2 separate regions of the Homo sapiens genome follow, and region 1 is linked to region 2. Evidence: promoter capture Hi-C in 16 types of primary human blood cells and fetal thymus (Javierre and others, 2016). All regions are on one chromosome and are shown on one strand. Each heading gives the region's core, a stretch centred on a gene start or on the middle of the fragment in contact. The rest is flanking DNA. Distances are from core to core; before and after follow the strand shown.

The links. The method cuts DNA at HindIII sites, captures the fragments that hold promoters and counts their contacts. A CHiCAGO score of 5 or more calls a contact.
Region 1: a contact is called between a fragment that was not itself captured here and the fragment with the promoter of SLC43A3 in region 2, in 6 of 17 cell types (erythroblasts, monocytes, activated CD4 T cells and 3 more). The highest score is 13.1, in erythroblasts.

The regions. Positions count from the first base shown.
Region 1 is chr11:57,478,557-57,485,040 of GRCh38, forward strand. SLC43A1 (solute carrier family 43 member 1) reads right to left here. Exons shown (of 15, transcript NM_003627.6): 15 at 5,978-6,484. Among named protein-coding and RNA genes, the nearest start is that of RTN4RL2, 21 kb to the left of the region's middle. RefSeq lists a silencer at 4,459-4,788. The HindIII fragment of the contact is 685 bases long and covers 4,456-5,140 here.
Region 2 is chr11:57,424,469-57,431,438 of GRCh38, forward strand. It overlaps SLC43A3 (solute carrier family 43 member 3), which reads right to left and starts at 2,653. Exons shown (of 14, transcript NM_199329.3): 1 at 2,594-2,653; 2 at 2,120-2,184; 3 at 1,521-1,884; 4 at 1,073-1,202. The coding sequence starts at 1,704. RefSeq lists enhancers at 585-1,377, 1,070-2,269, 1,378-2,170 and a silencer at 2,413-2,772. The HindIII fragment of the contact is 9,438 bases long and covers 1-5,784 here.

The sequences.
Region 1 (6,484 bases), core at 3,548-6,047, 56 kb after region 2:
GTCTCTTAAAAATGTTTTTTTAAGAATCTAGTTTGGAGTGGGGTGTGATGTCTCAACGTCTGTAATCCCAGCACTCTGGGAGGCTGAGGTGGACAGATCACTTGAGGTCAGGAGTTCAAGACCAGCCTGGCCAACATGGCAGAAACCCCGTCTCTACTAAAAATTCAAAAAAATTAGCCAGGCGTGACGGCGGGTGCCTATAGTCCCAGGTACTCAGGAGGCTGAGGCACAAGAATCACTCCAGCCTGGGTGACAGAGACTCTGTCTAAAAAAAAAAAAAAAAAAAAAAAAAAAAATCTAGCTTGGGAGGTGGGAATAGAAAGATAGAGGGGGCCTAGATGCTAGGGCTTGAGGAAGCAGGCTGAGGTTCTGTGATTCTGGCTAGGGAGGTCAAATGATCTTGAGAAGAAGAGAAGAAAGGAGAAGAAATCAGCATCTAAGCCTGAGGCAGGTAGACTCCGGTTAAGGGTGTGGGGTGGGCTGGGGGAGAGTGAGAGCAGCTGGTCAGAAACCCAGGGAGCTCGGAGTCTGGGGTCTTGCAGGGGCTTGTGTCAGGCTGGCTGTGAGGAGGTTAATGGGTTGGATTGGAGGGACAGCCAGACAAGAGCTCTGGTGGAGGAGGGGCTGCTGGGGCCTGGGCAGGGGGAGGGGAGCTGCTGGTAAATTAGAGGCAGGCTGTCCAGGTCATAGAATTATCATTGTGAAATATTCATGGGCCATCGGTCCAGATGCTATTTCAGAACAGTGAAAGCAAGAGGAGTGTGTGAGCCTCAGGAAGAAGCCTGAAGCAAAGCCACTCTCCACCAACCCCCACCCCTCCCACCACCAGCCCAGACAGACCCACGGACGCCCATCACGTGCACACCCACACTCCCGAGCTCTCACACACACTCGCACCAAGCAGAGCCATGTAGCACGTGCAAGCACACCAACCACCCACGGGTCCCACAAACAGGCAGGTGTCCCCTAAATTCTGACATGCACACTGACATGCACACCCACTCAATCAGGACCCAGCAGAGATCACCTCCAGCGATCTCACATGCGCAGACCCCCAAACTCTCCAAACAACCCAGATTCACCACCTTGACCCACACACCCTGAGATAGGAGGGATGTTCAAGGCCATCCAGCCCAACCCCCACCAATGCTCTGATGGGGAAACTGAGGCCATAGAAAGGAAGGGATTTGTCTGAGATTCCTCTATCCCCTGAAAAAAGCAAAATTCATTCACCTCCCACATTCTGAGTGTACCCCCATTCTGCATTTTCGTCTGCCAGACACCCAGCCTAGTTGTAATTAACTCCTCCCTTTCTCTAATTTCCTGCATCTATTCAGTTACCCAGTCCCCCACCCAGCCACAGTCTATCCCTTCCTTCCCATTCTCCCCACCACCTCCCTGCTCCAGCTACTCATTACCTCATGCCTGGAATATAAAAGAAAACTGCGATAACCTCCTCGCTGGTTTCCTACATGGAATCTCTCCCTCCCTCCCACCCAGCCATACCGTGGTGACCAGATTCATCTGATCAAAATTTGCATATGTTATGATGTCACTCAGGAGCCTGTAATGGCTTCCTAATGCCTATAGGGTAAAGGTAAAACACCTTAGCAGAGCATCAAAGATCCCTCAGAGTCTGGTACCAACTGCTTTTCTAGCCTTTTCTCTCACAATCTCATCCCAAACCTTCACTCCAGCTAGAACGTTTGTATCATACTGGCCACCAGTTATCATGTATGTGAAACCCACCAACCGACTTTGAGTGCCCCCCTAAAATTTCTCAGTCTCTCCTGAAGTAGGAAACCTCTTCCCCCTCCTCAGATCTCAGACTCCAGAGCCCTTTCCCAAGGCCAAGACTGCACCTCTCTGACCATATACAGGGGTTCTTCAAAGCAGCAGACAGAGGCTCAGGCTCTGGCTCCCTCCAAGCAGACGGCTGCCCCCGACTGGCCACCTTGGGAAGCACAGCCAGGCTTCAGTCGTCTAGAACAGAGAATGAGCATCTAACCGCCTGGGGAGAGGACTAGGACACCAGATGATAAGGTTTATAAGCCCTTAAGCCTCTAAGGTTCTTACACCCAGAGTAGGGGGGGGACGGTTCTCAGCCCTGTTTCCCTAGCTGCGGGCTCCCAATTTTCGATCCCTAATCCGAGAGGAACTCCTCTCCAATGAAATACAGACTTGGGACTCTCAGGACACTGTGGAAGGGAAATTTCCCAACAGACTCTGAGAGTCCAGGAGGCCAGGGATAGACCAGGTGGCAGGCCCAAGGTCCAGCTGGGGTCAGGTTTCTATATGAATTTTTAATGCTTCCAGATAGACTTGTCAGATGTTCTGAAAACTGAGCATCTCCTTTCACCTCTGTACATGATGCCCTTCTCCAACCCCATTGCCCCTGCAGGAGGGCAGGCCTGGGACAGATATTCAGTGGCCTCTGGAGAAACGGTTTTGGGACAGTAGAAGGGTAAATGACCTAGTTATGTTCCCACTAGTAAGCTGTGTGACCTTGGGCAAGTTACTTAACCTCTCTGAACATTAGAGTTCTGTGGGTTTGTTTTTGTTTTGTAAGCTGGGGACAATAGTGCCAGCCTAAATCAATTTGTTGTGGGGACTCAGTGCAATAGCCCATGGCAAAGTGACCTACATGCTTGCTGTTATTATTCTCTTTCCTCAAGTTCTGCCTCCCTCTTCCAGCTTTTCTTCCAACCCCAAAGATGTCTCTGGCTATTGCTTCGAAGGTAGGAACTTTGGTTGGTTCTCCCCTTTCTCTTCAGGCCCAAACTCCCCACCTCAAGATCCTTTGGCCTTTGTAGAAACTTCAGGTGAGGAGGTGGCAGAGAAATAAGAAAGTGTGCAAGGCTGGTGGAGTGAGAGAGGAGGATAGATGGCGAAGCCCTAGCAGAGGGGAGGGAAGTGGGCAGTGGAGAGAGGAAGGGAAGACCCTGCTCAGAGAGAGAAGAGCCAGGCACAGACTCATTCCTTCATCCCTCCCTCCCTCCCTCCCTCCCTCCCTCCCTCCCTCCCTCCCTCCCTCCCTTCCTTCCTTCCTTCCTTCCTTCCTTCCTTCCTTCCTTCCCTCCATCTTCTCCACGCCTGGTATCATCATACAGAAGCAGAGAGGACTGCACTTGGTGAAAGTTTCAATTCTCCTGTGTGGAGAGGTGAGCACTGAGGAAGGGGTGGGGGCTGTCAAAGGAGACTTACCCAATCTTTCCAGCCCACCAATCCCTTGCCCAGTGTTTCTATAAAATAAGGGCCTTTTGCATCTGATTTAAGTAGGAAGCTGATTCCTGAGCCCCTCAGATCTGCTGAATCAGATAGCTAAGGGGGCCCTGGAATCTGCATTTTAGCAAGCGGAGGTGGGTTATGAAGCACTCCAAAGTTTGAGACACGCCTCAAAGGTGGAGTGGTTCTGTGGGGGGCAGAAAGGAAAATGCAAAGGGGGAAGGGGTCACACTTGGGGAAGGTTTCAGACAATACCGAGTGGAAAGGGTGATGCCAGGTGTGGGGAGTAACAGATAGAGGAGGCAAAGTGAGTGGAGACCAAGCCAGACCGGGGAGGAGGGGGCCACAGCCAAGGTGAGACAGGTCAGCAGCCAGAAACCGAAGCAGACACTTGCAGGGTGCACCCCGCCCTCTCTTCGTGGCAATCTGAGACCGAGGACGTGGAGACCCTGGAGAGCCCCCAACCTTGTTTCTGGGGGGTGGGTCAGAGAGGAAGCCTCTCATCCCCGGGCACCAGCGGCCTTCCCGGGAGGCTCAACACGCAGATACCTGGATAGGCGTCCATCACTCCCCCGGCCAGAGCCCACCAACGCTCCTCGAGGTCCGACCTTGTCCCTCCTTCTACCCCACAGTCCCCAGTCCTAGCTCATCTGCATAAAGCTCCAATTAACATGTTTTTCCTTTGCTATTTGCGATCCCAGAACTCGTTCCCCACCCCGAGCCCGTTTCCCGCCGCCTCCTCGCCCCTGGGAGGGCGGCCCCATTAACCCTCGCGACCCGGGCCGCTCCTGGCGGTCCTGACCCCGCCACCCCGTCCCGCGGCGGGGGTTTGGGGGTGAGGGGCGCGCCCTGGGGCAGAGGATTGCGCGGCAGGGTCTGCCACAGGGCAGAGGCCAGGGCTCTCCGGGAAAAAGGCAGGCGCATATATGCCCCCCTTTCTGGGAAAAGACGGGGAGGGGGGCTTCTCCTGGGAGACTCCAGGCTTCGAAATTCCTCGTTCCCTATCCTCCGGCCCCCGCACCCCTCCTCCTCCCCGCCACGCACCCTCTCCCCTCCCCAGCCATCTGTTCCACTCCGCAGCGCCGCGACAAACACGGCTCCAGCTCGCTTCCGCCCCTGCCCAGCCCCCTCCCCAAGCCCCGGGGAGTGGGGGAGTGAGCAGACGCCCTTCTCCTAGGAGGCCGGAATTTCTGCCTCCATCTCCCACCGGGGTCCGGCTGGCCAGAGGCAAGCTTCGAGACCCCCCACCAACCACCACCACCGTTGCGAGGGCCGGTGAGGCTGCAGATAACGCTTGCAAGGACGGGAGTCGGGGAGGGTGTAGGGCGAGTTTAAAGGACGGGCAGAGCAAGCCCCGGGAAGAGGCAGGGGTTTTCCCTCCCGGGTCGCCGCCCCCCGCACCCTCGGAGCCAGCCGCAGCCACGCAGCGCCGCCTGCCGGGCACACCAAGGACCTGGCGCGCACGTGGCGCTTACCCCCACCCCCGGGTCCGCTCCTGGCTCGCGCTCAGCCTCCCCAGACTATTCGCAAATTGAGGATCCCGGACACAGAGTGCAGAGACCCCGGCAAGCCTACTGAAAGCCAGCCGAACCCGCTGGTGGGTGCTAGCCAATTCTGATTTTGTACTTTACAAAAACAAAAAAAGTCAGTGTTGGAAGTCGGGAGTCTGGGCTCAGAGCAGCAGGGATCTGCGATGTGACTTTGCCAAGTCTCCAGACCCCTGAGGACAGGTTTTCCTATCTGAAAACGGAGGGGACAGTCTCTCTTATTAACTTCTCAAGAGAAACAAAGACAAAGGGAGGGAAAATGGCTTAGCTGGAATGCTGTCTTACAGAGCCAACCTTTGGAGGTGGGGGAGATGGCCAAGGCCTCTGAGGTCACTCTTGGCCCCAGGAGCAGCTGAGAACCGGAAAGAAGCTTGGGACCTCCTTTCTGCAGAGCTATCCTTTCCACAGACTGCCGAGGTTCCAAATTGAGCTCCACCACCTAACACTGTGTGCCCTTGGGTGTGTGCCTTAACCTCTCTGGGCTTGTTTCCTACAGCGACAAGAAAGAATGACAACACCAACCTCTTAGGCTATAGTTTGGATAAAATGAGATAGCTGTGTAGAACAGACAGATCCTAAACCAATGTTAGTTTTCCCTTCATTTGGGGACTTGCTCTAACCTCCAGGGCTTATGTCCCAGAGGCACAAGCAGGTGCAGGGCTGGATAAATAAGGTATGTCTTTCTGCAGGATCTCTTGTCCTCACTGATGGTGTCTTCTCTTGATATAGATAATTTTAAAGCTTCACGTTATTTATTTATTTACTTTAAAGCCTCACTTTAATGTTAAAGGTAAATGTAAATATAGTATAACAAGGAAGCTCAAAATTTGCATAAAGTTTTAAGATAAAATAGGAGACTCCAAAAAAGTGTTACTTTCGGCAGGCCCTAGGGATGCTATGGTGGGAAGTTTGAGTCATACCTTAGCATTCTTTCTAAAGCATTCTGTCCTAATCCTCTGTATGGAGAAAAGCCAGCTTCCTGGATGTACCCCAAATCCTGGGAAGTAGGGGGCAGGAGCTGGACTCCCTCCAAGCACTAAGGGCAGGGCATGGTTGGGAACAGGGAGGTGAGCCAGACAGCCAGAGGCGAACGGGCTGGCATGCCAAGCGTCCTAGTTAATGCCCAGCTGAGCCTGGGTGAAGAAGGATGGGGGTGTGGGAAGACACCCCCCACCAACCGCCAAAGACAGGCGCACACCAGCCAGTCTCTCACTTCCCTTTTTATTTCCTCTAAGACTTGCAAGCAGCAGCACCAGAGAGGGAACCTGCCCTCCTGGCCCTGGAAGGGGCCGACCCCCAACCCCTAACCCAGGACACAGCTGGCACCTCAGGCCCCTTTCCTTCTGAAAGGAGGGCTGTGTCTCTCTCACATTCACACATACACAGACACATGCATGTGTGCACACTCATGGCACATGGGACCTCAGGGGTAGCCTGTTTGCCGATCCCCCCAAGAGGTACCAGGAGGCAGACCGCTAGAAGGAGATAAGAGGCACCCTGGTCTCCTCCAACCCAAGGAGGAAGAAGGCTCAACCCCTCTAGGATAGGGACTGTCTTCAGTCAATGGAGCGTTGACTTAGGGGGCGTTTTTGAAGGTTTTTTTTCCTCCTTTTTGCAGTCTTTACAAAAATAGAACTTCTCTTGGTATTTATAAATCTACGGCCATGGCTCTATGTGCATGTTACAGGTAGAAAAGCCATATGGGGCACTCC
Region 2 (6,970 bases), core at 1,403-3,902:
GCGCTGTCCTTCTCTGGGCCTCAGGAGCCTTTTCTATAAAAAGAAATGATCGGACTGATCTAGCTCAGAGTGCTATGATTTCAGGACTACAGTCCCAAGGTTATCAGGCTCCCTTAGCATTTGGGGGTCTTGTAAGGCATGGAGTAAAAAAAAAAAAGCAATATCCTAAGGCTGGAGAAGAGGGAGGGGACAAAGGAAGGGGAGGAAAGGGGAGGTAGCAGGGAGCCAAGGACCAAGAAGGACTGAGGTACAGTCATTCTGCATCCAAAGGCTTAAATTGTAAGGGACTGGCTTTACTCTGGCTGTTTCCGGAAAGGCAGGCCCAGCCAGCCCTCCCGTCTCTCTCTCTGACAGCCAATCTCACATGTGCCTCCCTGGGAGCACCTGCTCTGAGCTGTATCAGCCCCCAGCAGGCCGCTGATTACCACTGAGCCTGGCCACAGAGCACGAGATTAGGATGCAGCAACACACTGTGTGTGAGATCACGTCCCGAACCTTCTGACTCATCTGCACAGGAAACCCCCCCAGTCTCCCCTCCAGTCAGAAGGGACCTGAAATTCCACCAGTGGCAATACCAAAGAAACTTCCTATTAGCTAAGCCCCTAGGGAGTGATTGGCTGTTGGGGCGGGGAGGGGGGGCGGTGAGGAGGATGAGGATGAAGCCTGGGCAACCTGGATGTGAGGCTGTGCAGGGGATGAGGACAAGGATCCTTGGGGTGAAGGAAGAGAAGAGCAATTTTAGGTTTTGCTAATTTTGTAACCCTGGCTCCAAGCCAGCCCTTACAGGAAGTCACCCTGGCCTCCGGCTCAATTCAGCACGTGATAGGGAAGCCACATTTATGCAGAGCAGGGAACGAGGTAAGGAAATGGAAGTGGGGCTGTGGTGAAGTGGGCAAGTCTAGAGAGAGTCCCGCTGCCTGGGGCTGTTCCTAACAGCTGCTGGGAGCGAGCTGCAGGTGTGGTGCCTGGCAGGGTGGCCGGGCTGTCTGACTCTGGATTTCACTCCAAGCTAGGCTGCTGCCTGAAGGATTCCTCTTACCCACCTTTGCCTGGGCTGGCCTTTGGGACTTACATGGCTATGAGGCGTGCCACGGTGGTCTTGAACCGGTCAAAGATGTAGCCAGTGGGGAATGTCATGAAGTTGTTCATGAAGGACCCCAGGGTGAAGATGAGTGAGAACCTCTCATCCTGGGCTTTGCAGTCTGGAGTAGAAAAAAGGTCTCCCATGCATCCCAGCCTTCCTGCCAAATGAGCACACAGGCTGGGCTCCCCTCCACCTCAGACAGCTTGTCGGTCGCAAACTTGTCCCTTAAGCTGAGTTGAAATGTGGCTGCCCCTAATTACCCCTCAGGAGCTGGTGCCTCCCTCCCAGGCACTTCCCAGATCAAGTGGGGTGAGAGCTGCTGACCCTTCCTCTCATCATAGAAAGAGGGGTGGGCAGGGGGCAGAGTCCTTCCTGCTCCTTGCCACCACGTGGGAGCCAGACTTAACTTCCTTAGAAAAGTCATCCCTGCCCTTACCAGCCTGCCCTGTGGCATTGCCAATCGGCCCAGCATCTGGTCCACACAGATCCTTAAAGTAATCTTCATTCTTGAAGACAAACACTAGTGAAGGCCAGCCAAAGAGGACGCCAGCAAAGCCCAGGCATTCCAGCAGCCCAGTCAGCAGTGTGGCCACGTGCAGGGGCAGGCCCTGGCCCGCCATGAGCAGAAGTGGAGTGGATCTTCAAATCCCACTTTGTCCTCCTGGACGGATCACAGGCGCCGTAAGCCTGGCGTTTGAGCACTTGGAAAATTCCTCTGGCAAGCCAAGCCCTTCCTTTCCCGTAGCTCTCTGGTTGTTTCAGGCCTGGGCAAAAACCATCAGCGGGTGATTCTCTGGATCCTGTAGAATAAAGATAGAGGCTGCTGGAAGAGGAGGCCTGCGGGAAAGGGAAAGGTAGACTAGAGTTATTTGTGAGGTGCATTAAGAGGCAGGATGATCATGGCCGCTGGCAGCAAATGTGGGGAATAAATACTCCAATACATCATCTTAGGCACTGCATTTGAGTAACCACGTGGCAAGTAGAGAGGCAGGTCTTGATGGCCACCTGGAGTCACAGGTGAGATAAACGACTTACCCAATAGCTCCCCGGGAGCAGGTGGAGAAGCGGAGCTCCTGCGCTCGAATTCTGAATACCGTCCCCTAAAATAATGACAGCAACTCAACCAGGTGCAGAGGCAGGGAGATTTCATACAGAAGACACAAACTCCCGCTGCCAAGTTGGTGTTATCTTCAGTTTACTGACAATGAAACAAAAGCTCCCATGGATTTCAGGAACTTGCCCAAGGTCACAGGGCTAGTTTAGTCACGACGCAGGCCATTCTACTGCCAGAAATACCCCCAACTCCCATGACCCTCGCCTAGGACTCGCAAACCTGGTCCCCGCCGCCCTTCCTCGCATCAACTTCTACCAGGAAAGCCTCCGGGGGCCGCTCCCCGCCAGCCTCCGCACCCCGCTCCAGCCTGCGGCCTGCCCTCCCCGCAGAGGAGCCCGAGGGGCCAGGCCGCGCTCGGCGCCCCATGGCGCCCGAAAGGGGACCCTTCGCCCTACCCGCCTGCTCCGCGCCGGGGCTCTCCGCGCCCTTTCCGCACGGGCCAGGTTCGCATTCGCGCCTCTCGCAGCCCCTCCCAGTCCCCTGCTCGCCTCCGCCCCCTCCTGCCCGCCCGGAAGGGGCTGGGGCAGACCTCCCACTCTCCATCACTTCCTTCTTCTTTTCCCTTGCTCACAGCCTCCCGCGCCCTTTTTACCTCTCCCTCTTGAAACTTCTCCCTCTAGAACCCCCTAGAACCCCAGCGGTGTCTTTCCCTCCCTCCTCGCTGCCTTTCAGCCTCCCAGCCCCCTTGCCTCTGCCTCCCCTAACCAAGTTAGTTGAATGCTGTTACTCGCTCAGGCCCACCTAGGGAAAATGTCACACCCAGCACCCAGAGGACACACAGACAGCACATGAGGGCATAGGGACACACACACTCTATTTGTGCATTTTGCCTTGACCGCTGGGTTGGCAGGGAACATATTTTTCCTATTTGCTCACCAGCTTAACCGTCTCTCCCAGTTTCACACTCCCAGAGCTGCCAAAAAAATCCCAACCACAGAATCAGGAAGCCAAGAACCAGGACTGAGGGCTTTTCAGAAACCATCCCCTGGAGGACTGCCCCATATTTTCACTCCCAAAAACCCCTTAGATGACTCCCTGCCTCACCCCCGCCCCCCAGGTTCTGAAAGAGCCTTCCCGCCAGACTGCATTGATTAACCATTCATTGCCCCATTTTTTATTAATCAAAGACATATATAATTGCTCATCGGAGCTTGTGATCAGCGTGAGGCCTTACTAAGCAGCTGCCTTACTATCCTTCCAGCCCAGAGCACGTGAGCTGACGTCTTCTTTGGCCTGTGTGGCCGTTTCCTTGCCAAAAGCTCAGTTTGGGGAGAGCTTCTTGCGTATTAGATGCAGTCTGCAGACTCCCAACCCCAGCTACCTGGATCCCCTGAGGGCCCAGGAACTCCAGCTATTCCAAGCCCACTCCTCTTTTTTTTAAGAGGAAGAAATAGAGGTTACGATAGGGGACAGCCAGAACTGAGGATTTTCCAGCTCACCACCAAAGCACAAAAGATAAAAGTCTGCAACCACCCTAGTGACTTGACTGAATGGAGGAAGGGTGGCTGGGGTCCTGTACCCCAAGCTACTCACTAGTTATACAACCTGAGGCAAGCTCTTTGGCTGCCCCACCTGTAAGACGAGGACAATAGTACCTTAATTATAGGAATTGTCATAAAAGAAGTATAAGATGGGTGTATGAGGTCCCTGCATGGCGCAGGTGCTATAGGCAGATTGTAGGGTAGTAGATTTTCTAGTCTGCAGTTATGTAGACAGAGCCAGAGAAGCAGCTCTGGGGAGGAATTTCAAAGGAACTTGCCCACGGTCATTCTACAAAGCTGCAGTACCTTCCCAACTCTGAAACGTATGCTCTCATCACCCCGTCTTAACAAACATTTGGACATTAGAGAAAACAAGTCTTTTCTTAAAATAACATTATTTATGGGAGAAAATCCACAAAAATATAGCATCCCAGGACAAACAGGGCTTAAGATGCAAGATTTTCTATTTTACTGCAAGACACAAAGACTCTGAAATTAATGCATGCCCTATCTTCTGCTCTGGCATACATTTTAGTCTCCTGGGGGGATCAGTAAGTGTGGAAGTAGCAAGGGAGAAACAGAAAAAAGTCAAAGTAAAGAGACAGATTTTAGAATGTTAATCTGCAGGAGCCTGCCAGAAAGATCTAGCTCATGGGCTATCTGTACATCCAGGACTGAAGCACGGGACACGGGGCAGGTCGTCCAGGGTTCTGTCCACCTTATCTTGTTACCTCTCTTGACTCTTAGAGCCTCCACTCCACATCTCCCATCAATGTCTGCAGAAGACGTGGCCTCCACTAACACAAGTCTTACTGAACTGATGGGACAGGAAATTAGAATATCCTCTGAACCATTCCCATGTTCTTTGGTTCGAATTCCAGCAGCTAGAAAAGGCAGATGCTATTCTGATCACTCTCCTGCGTGGCTCCAATGAGGATTAATGAGTAACATCAGAGAGAGAAGTGATTATAATAAGGTCTGACGGTGCACCCGATGTCTTCATCCTTTTCTCTTCGCCTCCTTCCTCATCATCTCACACCTTTTTTTTTTTAATTGACTGATTGGTTCAACAAATACATGTGGTACCTCAGGCTCTGTGCCAAGTGCCGGGATTCGTAGAGAAGAGATTCAGTGCCTGCTCTCAAGGGGCTCATTCTCTTGTGGGAGAGACAGACAAAGAAACCCAAGATTTCTGGAGTGTGGGAATGGTCTTCCAGGCAGATGCTAGCACAGCACATTGAAAGGCACGGAACCTCAACAAAACAATAACATTTAGGAACCAGCTAGAGCACAGGGTGGTGAAGAAAGTGGAAAGATTTGAGGCCAGCGTCGCCATCTAAGTGAGGGCATTAAGAATTCAGCCCACATCAATCAATCATGTCCTATTGATTTCACCCCTTAATATCTCTCCTATCTATCCGTGGCCACTGCTCTATGCAGACACTCATCATCTCTCACAGAGGCATCATCTGCTTCCAAGCCATCGCCATTCTCCTGCAAGAGTTTATTTCCATGGTTCCCACTGGATGGCTTCACTTAACTGCTCAAAACCCTTCTGAGGTCCAGTCAACTGGCTGGTAAGGACCAGTCCAGGGTCTGGGGATGCCAGCCATGAGACATTGCTTTGAGGGGAAGAGGGAGCATAGAACTGGATCTCCTGCATCCTACTGCCCAAGTACCAATGCTGGAGGTGGTTTTCCTTCCCATCATCAGCAAGTCTGGATATCCAGGATCCACCCTATGGATGTTTTTATGGACAGAGTGGGAAGATGGATATGTTTAGGTTAGGGAAAGAGGGTTTGCCAAAGAGGGCAGTATAAGTGAGCTGCACTCCATCATTCCCCTGGCACAAACAATGGCTAGTATCCTCTAGTCCTCAAGAGCACCACCTTCCAATGCAGTCCCTGCCTGTCCACAGACCTCTCTCCTCAAACTTCCTCTGAACAACCTCAGCGAGGGCAATTGCCACTCTCTGGGCAGAGTCCAGATATTCTCTCCTACCCTCTGACATCACTTTCTAAATTTGTATATGTAGATAAACTCTGAGCCATTCACATAAAGGGCTTTGATTTCGGATACGCCAAACACATAAACAAACAAACATAAGCTTTCCTTTCACAATGGGCTCATGTAAATTAAAATGTTTGGTTTTCCACCTACGGTCTTGAAAGGGGTTTCTACAGCCTGTTTTGGAAGTCAGAAAGCAAAAGGTAAATGCAAACATCATTTCACCTGCAGAGAAAATTCTAATCCTCTTGAGGCAGTGCCAAAAATAATACAAGCACACTGCTATCGAGCCAATTACTGGTATCTCTGAGCTTCCGTCTCCTCATCTATAAAATTGGAATCGAGCTGTATGGATTAAAGATAATGTATGAAAACTGCCCAATTAGTACACTATTAATAAATAGCAGCTACTGTTGTTAACAAATATTATTGACTTACTGGAAAACAAAGAGGAAATAAAGTCACATTTAGGGAGAATTTCAAAGTGTTCCTAACCTAAAAAAGAAATAAATTAGGGGGAAAACCACTAAGTAATGGGTGAGCTCAGTTTACCTTGCTTAAGAAGTCCCACCCTAGAGAACTGATCTCTAGATGACACCCAAATGCACTCAGTACAACCCCCCAAGACTGTCTGGGCTTAAGGCAGGGGCTTGGATTGTCCTGTAAGCTGTGGGAAGTCTGTTCATGAGCCACAGTAGACAGGAAGGGGATGGAGTCTTAGAGCTGGCTCTTCAGGGTATCTCCTAGTGTGTTCAAAGCAGTTCTCAGGAGGGTGGGGAACTACTACATAGCCAAGTAAATATGAGGCCTCCTTGCTCTGGGGAGACCTTTCTCTTTAACAGAGGTGAATCTGAAAGGATACCCAAAGAGGCACTGGAGGGTGGGGGCCACTCTGGCCCCTCAGAGCAGCCAGCTCAGCTTCAGTGGATGCTAGAGGCAGCAGAGGATCAGCCTGGATCAGCCTCCCTTTCACCATGCAGAAAACAGAGCTCCCCCACCAGACCAGATACTGGAAGCACTGGGCCAGGCCTAAGAGAAAGCAGAGCCCCAAGCCCCACCACACCAGGGCTTATGAGGCTACTGCTACCCACCCTCCCAAGCCCCAGCTCCACTTCTATGTTCATCAAGCAACTGTTTACTGGTAACTGCACTTCCCGATAGACTTTGCTAGAAAGGAATGCCTCAGTGCACTGACAATATCTAAACCTGCAACTCTAAGGACTAGGCTGGGGAACACTGTGTCAACATGGAGGCACGTCCTACCCCTGAGAAGAAAAATAAGGA